Regions from separate parts of the Homo sapiens genome. Here all the other regions are linked to region 1. Evidence: promoter capture Hi-C in 16 types of primary human blood cells and fetal thymus (Javierre and others, 2016). All regions are on one chromosome and are shown on one strand. Each heading gives the region's core, a stretch centred on a gene start or on the middle of the fragment in contact. The rest is flanking DNA. Distances are from core to core; before and after follow the strand shown.

What was found. The method cuts DNA at HindIII sites, captures the fragments that hold promoters and counts their contacts. A CHiCAGO score of 5 or more calls a contact.
Region 2: a contact is called between a fragment that was not itself captured here and the fragment with the promoter of PMP22 in region 1, in 11 of 17 cell types (endothelial precursors, erythroblasts, M2 macrophages and 8 more). The highest score is 13.3, in endothelial precursors.
Region 3: a fragment that was not itself captured here is called in contact with the fragment with the promoter of PMP22 in region 1 in 1 of 17 cell types (endothelial precursors); the score reaches 8.5 in endothelial precursors.

What each region holds. Positions count from the first base shown.
Region 1 is chr17:15,264,033-15,266,687 of GRCh38, forward strand. It overlaps PMP22 (peripheral myelin protein 22), which reads right to left and starts at 1,294. Exons shown (of 5, transcript NM_000304.4): 1 at 1,122-1,294. It overlaps LOC124903931 (a long non-coding RNA gene), which reads left to right. Exons shown (of 2, transcript XR_007065632.1): 2 at 1,424-1,877. The HindIII fragment of the contact is 20,659 bases long and covers 1-2,655 here.
Region 2 is chr17:15,478,204-15,480,858 of GRCh38, forward strand. All of the region lies in intron 4 of TVP23C-CDRT4 (TVP23C-CDRT4 readthrough), which reads right to left. Among named protein-coding and RNA genes, the nearest start is that of CDRT3, 8.7 kb to the left of the region's middle. The HindIII fragment of the contact is 1,557 bases long and covers 556-2,112 here.
Region 3 is chr17:15,448,891-15,451,545 of GRCh38, forward strand. The region is part of intron 4 of TVP23C-CDRT4 (TVP23C-CDRT4 readthrough); the gene reads right to left. The region is part of intron 2 of CDRT4 (CMT1A duplicated region transcript 4); the gene reads right to left. Among named protein-coding and RNA genes, the nearest start is that of CDRT4, 17 kb to the right of the region's middle. RefSeq lists an enhancer at 1-432. The HindIII fragment of the contact is 2,897 bases long and covers 1-2,655 here.

The DNA.
Region 1 (2,655 bases), core at 44-2,543:
GGTTTATGGTGGTGATTGAAGGAGACAATATGTACAAAGCAGTTAACATCGTGTCTGCAACATAATAAGGGCCCAGTGCCCAAATTGCCACCACTATTATTATATCACATTTAACTCTCACATCAACCTTTCAGGGAAGACCTGACCACCTCTGCACTAAAGTAGCTTGTAACTCTGATAGGTAGGTAGGTAGGTAGGTAGATAGATAGATAGATAGATAGATATAGATAGATAGATAAAGATTTATAAATGAAAGTGCATATGCAAGTAGAAAAAAAAGTCTAAAGACATGGCAGTGTTTTCTTTCCTCCACAGGTCATTTTATAAGTTAGATTTGCTCTAGAAATTATTACTTTGTTTTATGCCATTTGGACATTTATTTATTTAACCAACACTTATGTGATCACAACATACTCAGGACTGTTCTAAGTAAGCACTTTAGAAATATGAGCATATCTAACTCAGGGTTTTCTTTCCCTTCCTTTGTGATTTTCAAATAAACTTTTTAATAAAGTCTAATACACATACAGAAAAGTGCATATATTGGGTGCTACAGCTCGCTTCTTCCTTTCTTTTGAACCCAATAGTTTAATCAATAACCACCCAGGTCACAGCCACACCATATACTGCCAGACAGGTAAACCCAACCCATCTGTCCCTCACTGCCTCTGGCCTCCTGCCTGGTTCTCAATGGTGGCAGAGGAAGTGCTACTCAGTGCCTGCTGACCAGGCTTGCCACACCCAGAGCCCGGCTGGCCAAGGCTCTGCCACAGGTGGCAGCTTCTCCCTAACCTGCTTACCAAGGCCACCTGCCAGCTGTGTGTGCACAGCTATTTTCCATGGGGGAAAAAGCATCTAGATTCCTTTCTTCCTTTCAATCTGGATGCATTAGGGTTTCTAGATGCTCTCAGATGGCCCCCCACCTCCCCAGCCAGAGTATATATCCACCTTTTAACCAAGGATATAAAAAGCCCTCTGAATCTCCAGTCAATTCCAACACAAATGCACCATCTCTCCTGCAATCCTTTTCATTTGCGGCTTGCAGGGGGTGGGAAATTAGGCAATTCTTGTAAAGCATAGGCACACATCACCCAGAGGCACAGTTTGCCAATAAAACTCACCCGGCCAAACAGCGTAACCCCTTCTTCCAAGCAGATTTCTTTGCAGCCAAATGCAAGGGATGTTAAGGCAAGACCCTCCCCACAGGGCAGTCAGAGACCCGCAGCCGACAGACTAAGCCTGCAGCTTCCAACCAGGCTCCCCGAGATGTTCCCTGGTGGTGCTCCCTGTAACTGAAGCCAGACCAGGCGTCTTTCCAGTTTATTCAGGGGCTGGTCCAATGCTGGGATATGTCATGGTGGCCTGAGAGGTTCTCAGCCTCTATTATTTAAAGAGACAGTGTCCAACTTTGTTTGCTTTCCAGAATACAATAATCCCAAGAGGCCCTGCAGGGCATGGAGAAACTGGAATCAGAAGGGAGAAGAGCTTTGAGTATGCCTGAAGCCTGTGATGCCAAGACTGTTCTCTCTGGAAGTGCCAACCTGTGTAATAGCCAAGAGGTCCCACTGGCTCCCCTCCCCTCCCAGTGAATTCTGCAGAGATTAAATATACTGTGGGAAGGATCTGTGTCTACAGTGTTACATACGTGCAGGTAAGTTTTATTTTAAATAAACTTCCTTTTAAGGAGCCCAAACATTGCACAGCTAATCTCTCACAGCATCACAGCAGTGAGCCAAATGTCTCAAGAGTCACCAAATCAAGCCTCCTTTGTTCCAACCCCTGGTTGGAAGGACTCCCTGTTACCTGCCTTGTCTGCCTAGACCCCATCGCAAATGATCACATGTGTTGTACATTAGAATAAAACTTAGGGAAATGTGTTCTTCCGACTCTGTCTTTAATGTGCCCGAATCAAGCTGACCTTCATGAGATAATTCAATGCAAGTAAACGAACCTCTATTGAAAACTATTGAAAACTTTCTAACCTGTCAGGCAGAATAGGCTGGAAGAGCAATTGGAAATTCTTGGAGAGGGAAGTAAAGGAAGTTATGGCATATTTAGGTTCTTTGCAGCGTACCACTCCAGCTCCCAGAGAGTCCTCCATCCCTTGAACCGCTTCTAGCTGCAAACTCTGACACAAGAGGACTGGTTTCATTGCATGAGTTTCCTGGAATTCTGGCACTTGGGGCATAAGACTTCCTCTTGTGTTAGGGATCCCCAGTCTGGAGAGACCTGCAGAATTTGGAGGAGTCCCTCCCTGTCACACACTTTACGTTTGATTGGACTCTCCAGTCACAAGGGCCTCTCAATGGCCCTCTCCCCTGTTCTGCCCACAGCCAGCATCTGCTCACAGCCAGCATCACAGCCAGTGCCAATAAAATAGTTTCACCTTTCTCTCTTTGCTGAAATCATTTTTATTTTTCACAGCAGTGGTTCTTTAGAATCACTCAAGAGCTTTGCAAATGACCTAGCCTGGGCCATGGTCAGAGAAGCTGACTCAGGTGTTTTGGGATGGGGCTCAGGTATGGGTAATTTCCAGTGTCTTTCTCCCCGCTGGATGTTTCGTTGTCCAGCCAGGTTGTCATGTGGAGTTAGATTGTCGCTGATTTCCTTCCAGCTCCCTTCTGTTGTGGAACCCAAATGGAGATGAGGTACAGT
Region 2 (2,655 bases), core at 84-2,583, 210 kb after region 1:
GAGACGAGATTGCGCCACTGCAGTCCGCAGTCCGGCCTGGGCGACAGAGCGAGACTCCGTCTCAAAAAAAAAAAAAAAAAATTCCAAGCCTTGGCCGGGCATGGTGGCTCATGTCTGTAATCCCAGCACTTTGGGAGACCAAGGTGGGAGGATTGCTTGAGCCCAGGAGTTCAAGACCAGCCTGGGCAACATAGTGAGACCTCATCTCTAAAAATAAAAATAAATGAAAATCAAATCCCAAGCCAGTCTTTTTTCTTGCTCTCCCAAGCTGTTTTGAACTAGCTTGGGATGTCTTCCCTGTTCTTCCCCAGAAAGCCTCATCATGTAAGTCAGGGGCGTCCAATATTTTGGCTTCCCTGAGCAACACTGGAAGAAGAATTGTCTTGGGCCACACATAAAATACACTAACACTAACGATAGCTGATGAGCTTAAAAAAAAAACAACTAGCAAAAAAAAAAAATCTCAAAATGTTGTAAGAAAGTTTATAAATTTGTGTTGGGCTGTACTTAAAGCCATCCTGGGCCACATGCGACCCGCAGGCTGTGGGCTGGACAAGCTTGATGTAAGTAATAAACATGTGCATGCTCTCTTGGTATGTGTGATGGCGTCAATCTTGACATCCAAACTAAATTTAGGGTGGGGATCCACCTTGCTTCTGCAAGGTAACCACAGCATCTGGTCTCTTGCCATTAAAAGAATTCTCCACATCACTGCTGGAGTTATCTTTCAGAAAACTCGCTTTGCTCGGGTTCCAGATTTGTGCCATGATGTCCCTCGGTTCCCCTCCCTACAATCCCAGTAGTGCCAGAGCACTCTGCCCCACTTAACCTTGTCAGCCTCATCTTCCTCCACCTTTCCTCTCACACGCCTCAAGGGGCAATCACACCACAGTGGTGATGCTACAAAGCACTGATAAGTTTATTTCCAATGTATTCCCACTGCCTTCTTCTTTCTCACTGAAAAGCTCAAAGAAACCACAAAGAAACCAAAGCACTTCTATAGTTAAACAAAATCTGAAAGCAGACCAGCAGACCTCGTTTTCCTGCCCTCTAAGACCAGACAATAGCGGGGCTGGGGAAGTGGAAAGGATCTGGTGGAAGGAAAGTGAGGAGACACAGGAAGAAGGGAAGAGGAGAAAGAGCAGAGCCTCAATCAAGAGGCACTTCCCTTCCTCCCAGCCCAGCTTCACCTCTGTCAGGCCTTTTCTGATCTTCCCTCTTTGGGGCTCTCCTGACATACCACTCACACTTATTTCATTGTGATATTGTTGGTTGTTCATGTTTGTTTACTCCACTGGGTCAATGGCTTCTTAAAAGTGGGGAGTGCGCTTTAGTTGCCCCACATCCAAGGCACACAGGGCTGGCAGGCCTCCTGCCATACACTACTAAATTATTAATTTTTAGAAATCCTGCAATTAACTTAAGATCATATGATAATATGACACTGCATTTTTAGTAGACTGACAAGCATTATTTTTCAATGTAAGCATTGTGAATATCTCAGTGAGCTTGGAACTTTGTTTTCTTGTTTCTGCTTTTCACAGTTCCAGGAACTCTGAAGTGGCCTGTGGCTCCCTTGATCTCCAACAACCCCTGTGCATACATCAAAGTCCTAGACAGAAAATGTTCAGGAAATAACCACTGATCAGTTGCTACCTCAATGCAAAATTCCTTGAAGATGGACCAATGCCAGAAGCCAGTGGTTTTCCTACAGGAAGAGAAACTTGATACTTCTCCCTGTCTTTTCCAGCCCAGATGAAAGGGCACCATATGCCCATACTTATCCCATAAGGCAGGTCCCAGCCTCCTGAGCCACTCTGCAGTGATTTTTTCCTAGCATGTTTCTCCCATGGCTACTAACCACCTGTGAGACCCAGGCAGTAAGTATTCCAGTTCCAAGCAGTTTATGGCACAGTAGGAAGTAGGTTCTGCCTTTTACAATGTGTGACCCTTAGGAAGCTCCCTTTCCCTCCCTAAGAGCTCAATGTCTTCATTATAGAAAGGAAATTATAATAACGTCTGCCCTAGTCACCTTGCAAGAATGCCTTTAGTATTAAACTAGAGAAATAACAGTTGTGGAGAGGTTCATAAACTGTCCAAGGGCCATGCAAAAGCTTTACTCTTAGCTTCTCCTTTGTAAGTGGATGAGCCTAGCTTGCCAAGGAGAATAGTCCCGTTTGCATGCCAAAAACACTTGACACAGCATATACTCCCTACGAAATGAAGCTAGAATTAATAATGCACAGAGGTGTAGGCACGCCCAAGTGCATTGTCTAGTAGGACAGGCTTTTGCAACCTTTTTTATAACGCAATCCATCTTTTGAAAAAAAGAAAATCTCGTTCCTTCCTTTTATCTTATTTGAAATTCCAAATAAGTAAAATAATCATAATCATTAAATATCATGATTCCAAGATGACCCCCTACTACTCTCCCTCGCCAGCTGAAAACCACTTTTGGGGTTATTAGCTATCTTGTTTCCAGATGAGGCATTTATAACACAAGCTAACACTTATTACAAATGTATATGTGTCAGGCCCATTTCTAAACTTTTACAAATCCTAACTCAGGAACTAGCAGCACCTCTATGAGATCCATATTCTTACTTCTCCCATTTTATAGATGAAAGACCTGATGCCCCCTCAAAAGAGGAAAAG
Region 3 (2,655 bases), core at 41-2,540, 180 kb after region 1:
CTGAATGATCTGTGCAGACCTCCAGCCCAGCAGTCCTTGACCTGCTCATTTCCAATCACCAGGTCTTCCTCTCAGTCTCCACCACCCGTGCCTCTGTGATCAGGCCACTGTTCTTATCATCCCCAATAACGATGCTACATCCAAAATCTAAGCTGCAAGCATCTCACTCTTATTTCACACATATTTGCATGGCAAAGCCTTAATACCAGTTCAATCCACCTGTGGGGCTCTTTTGGGTGCTGTCATCTCAGCAACTAAACTTGGTGAGAGGAAAACGCCACTGTGCCGATTGGTCCCACGTGGAGTAACAGCTAACATTTCTATGCCGTGTGGTGTGACCAGGGCACACGCTAAGTGTATTACCTATAGTGACTAATTAAATCCTAACAAAACCCATATGCATTAGGTACTATTGTATTAACCCCATTTCACAGGCAAGTAAACTGGAGCCTGTAGGGACATTAAGCAGCCTGTCCAAGGTCACACAACAATTAGGTGACAAAAAACAGGATTTGCCCTCAGGCAGTCTAGCTGCAGAATCCTTTTCTTTATAATTCCACACACTTGCTCCTCTATCTCCAAGTCAATCAACAGAGGTAGTCCAACCAACACTTCTCCCTTCCTACTCTTTTCACTTTTCCACTCCCCAAGCAACTCTTTCTTTTTTTAATATTATATTTATTTTAGATTCAAGGGTCCGTGTGCCTGTTTGTTACGTGGGTATATCGTGTCATGGTGGGCTTGGGATCCTGGTGAACCCATCACCCAAAATATTGAACTTTGTACCCAACAGGTAATTGTTCCACCCTCACCCTCCTCTCATCCTCCTCCCTTTTGGAGTCCACAGTGTCTGTTATCTTCACCTTTATGTCCATGTGTACACATCGTTTACCTCCCAGTCATAAGTGAGAACATGTGATATTTTATTTTCTGCTTCTGGGTTAGTTTACTTAGAATAATGGCTTCCAGCTCCATCTATATTGCTGCAAAGGACAGTCTTTCATTCTTTCTCATGGCTGCATAGTATTCCATGGCATATATATGCCACATTTTTCTTATCCAGTCAACCATTGGTGGACACTTAGGTTGATTCCATGACTGCTATTATGAATAGTGCTGGGATAAACATATGAGTGCAGGTGTCTTTTTGATAAAATGATTTATATTCCTTCAGGTAGATTCCCAGTAGTGGAACTGTTGTGTCCAATGGTAGTTCTATGTTTAGTTCTTTAAGAAATTTTCATACTTTTTTCAATAGAAGTTAAATATTTTATATTCCCACCAAGCAACTATTTCAAACCTCCTCTTCACCTCCTTCTCCTTCCATTGTAGGTTGTCTTTGTCTTGCCCGGCTTTGAGAAAAATCCAAGAATCCATCAAGAACTCCCTCATCTCCCACCATCACTCGTACCAACTCTCCACCATAAGCTCCCCTGCACTATGCCTTCCTTCCCACTACTATGAATGAGGCATCTGTATTCCTGTCAAAGAACACCTCTCCACTTGCAGCTCAGGCCTCTCACCCTCCACCTTCCAAAATGCAATGGTCATGGATAGAGTTGAGCACTCACTCTCACATTCTTGAAATGTTCTCCCACCTGGTTTCCATGATGCCACAGGAGTGGAATCCCACCATCACTCAGCAAGCTCCTTCTGTCTCCATTGAGGATTTCTAGTTCCCTTCTTTTTTTTTTTTTATTTCCACACATCCCCAAAGTGATGGCAATCAGTTTTGTGGCTCTACATCTCATCAATTTGCCACATCTAACTAGACTGACTTCTTTCCCAAAGTCCAAATACATATATCCAACTGCCAATATACTACATCTTTATTTGTATATCTAATAACCTCTCAAACTTTTCATGGTTCAAACAAACTCTTGACCTTACTCCATAAAATGTTCCTCTCTGGTCTCTTCCATCTCAGAAAGAGGCATCATCATTCATCGAATTGCCCAGTTCAAACATCTAACATCTCTTTCTTCTTCATTCAATATCTCCAGCCCATTATCCTCCCCAAACCCAGCATGATTTAACTTCTCTACACCACCAGCCTCCTCTAAGACATCAACATCTACTAACTGAACTACTGAACACCTGCTACTGGTCTCCCTGCTTCCACTCTTGTTCCCCTATGATATGATTTGGCTATGTCCCCACCCAAATCTCAACTTGAATCGTAGCTCCCATAATCCCCACGTGTTGTGGGAGGGACCTGGTGGGAGGTAACTGAATCATGGGGGTGGGTTTTTCCCGTGCTGTTCTTATGATAGTGAATAAGTCTTACAAGATCTGATGGTTTTATAAAGGGCAGTTCCCCTGCACATGCTGTCTTGCCTGCTGCCATGTAAGACGTGCTTTGCTTCTCCTTCACCTTCCGCCATGAATGTGGAGACCTCCCCAGCCATGTGGAACTGTGAATCCATTAAACCTCTTTCCTTTATAAATTACCCAGTCTCGGGTATTTCTTCATAGCAGTATGAAAATGGACTAACACACCCTACAACTCCTTCTCCAAAGAGGACCCAGAGTGATTATTTTTAAACATGATCAGATTAAATCATCCCCCTGCCTAACATTCCCCCCTCCATTTAGAAGCCAATGCCAGTTCCTTATGTTGGCCTGCAAATCCTCTTTGATCTGGCCCCTGCCTCC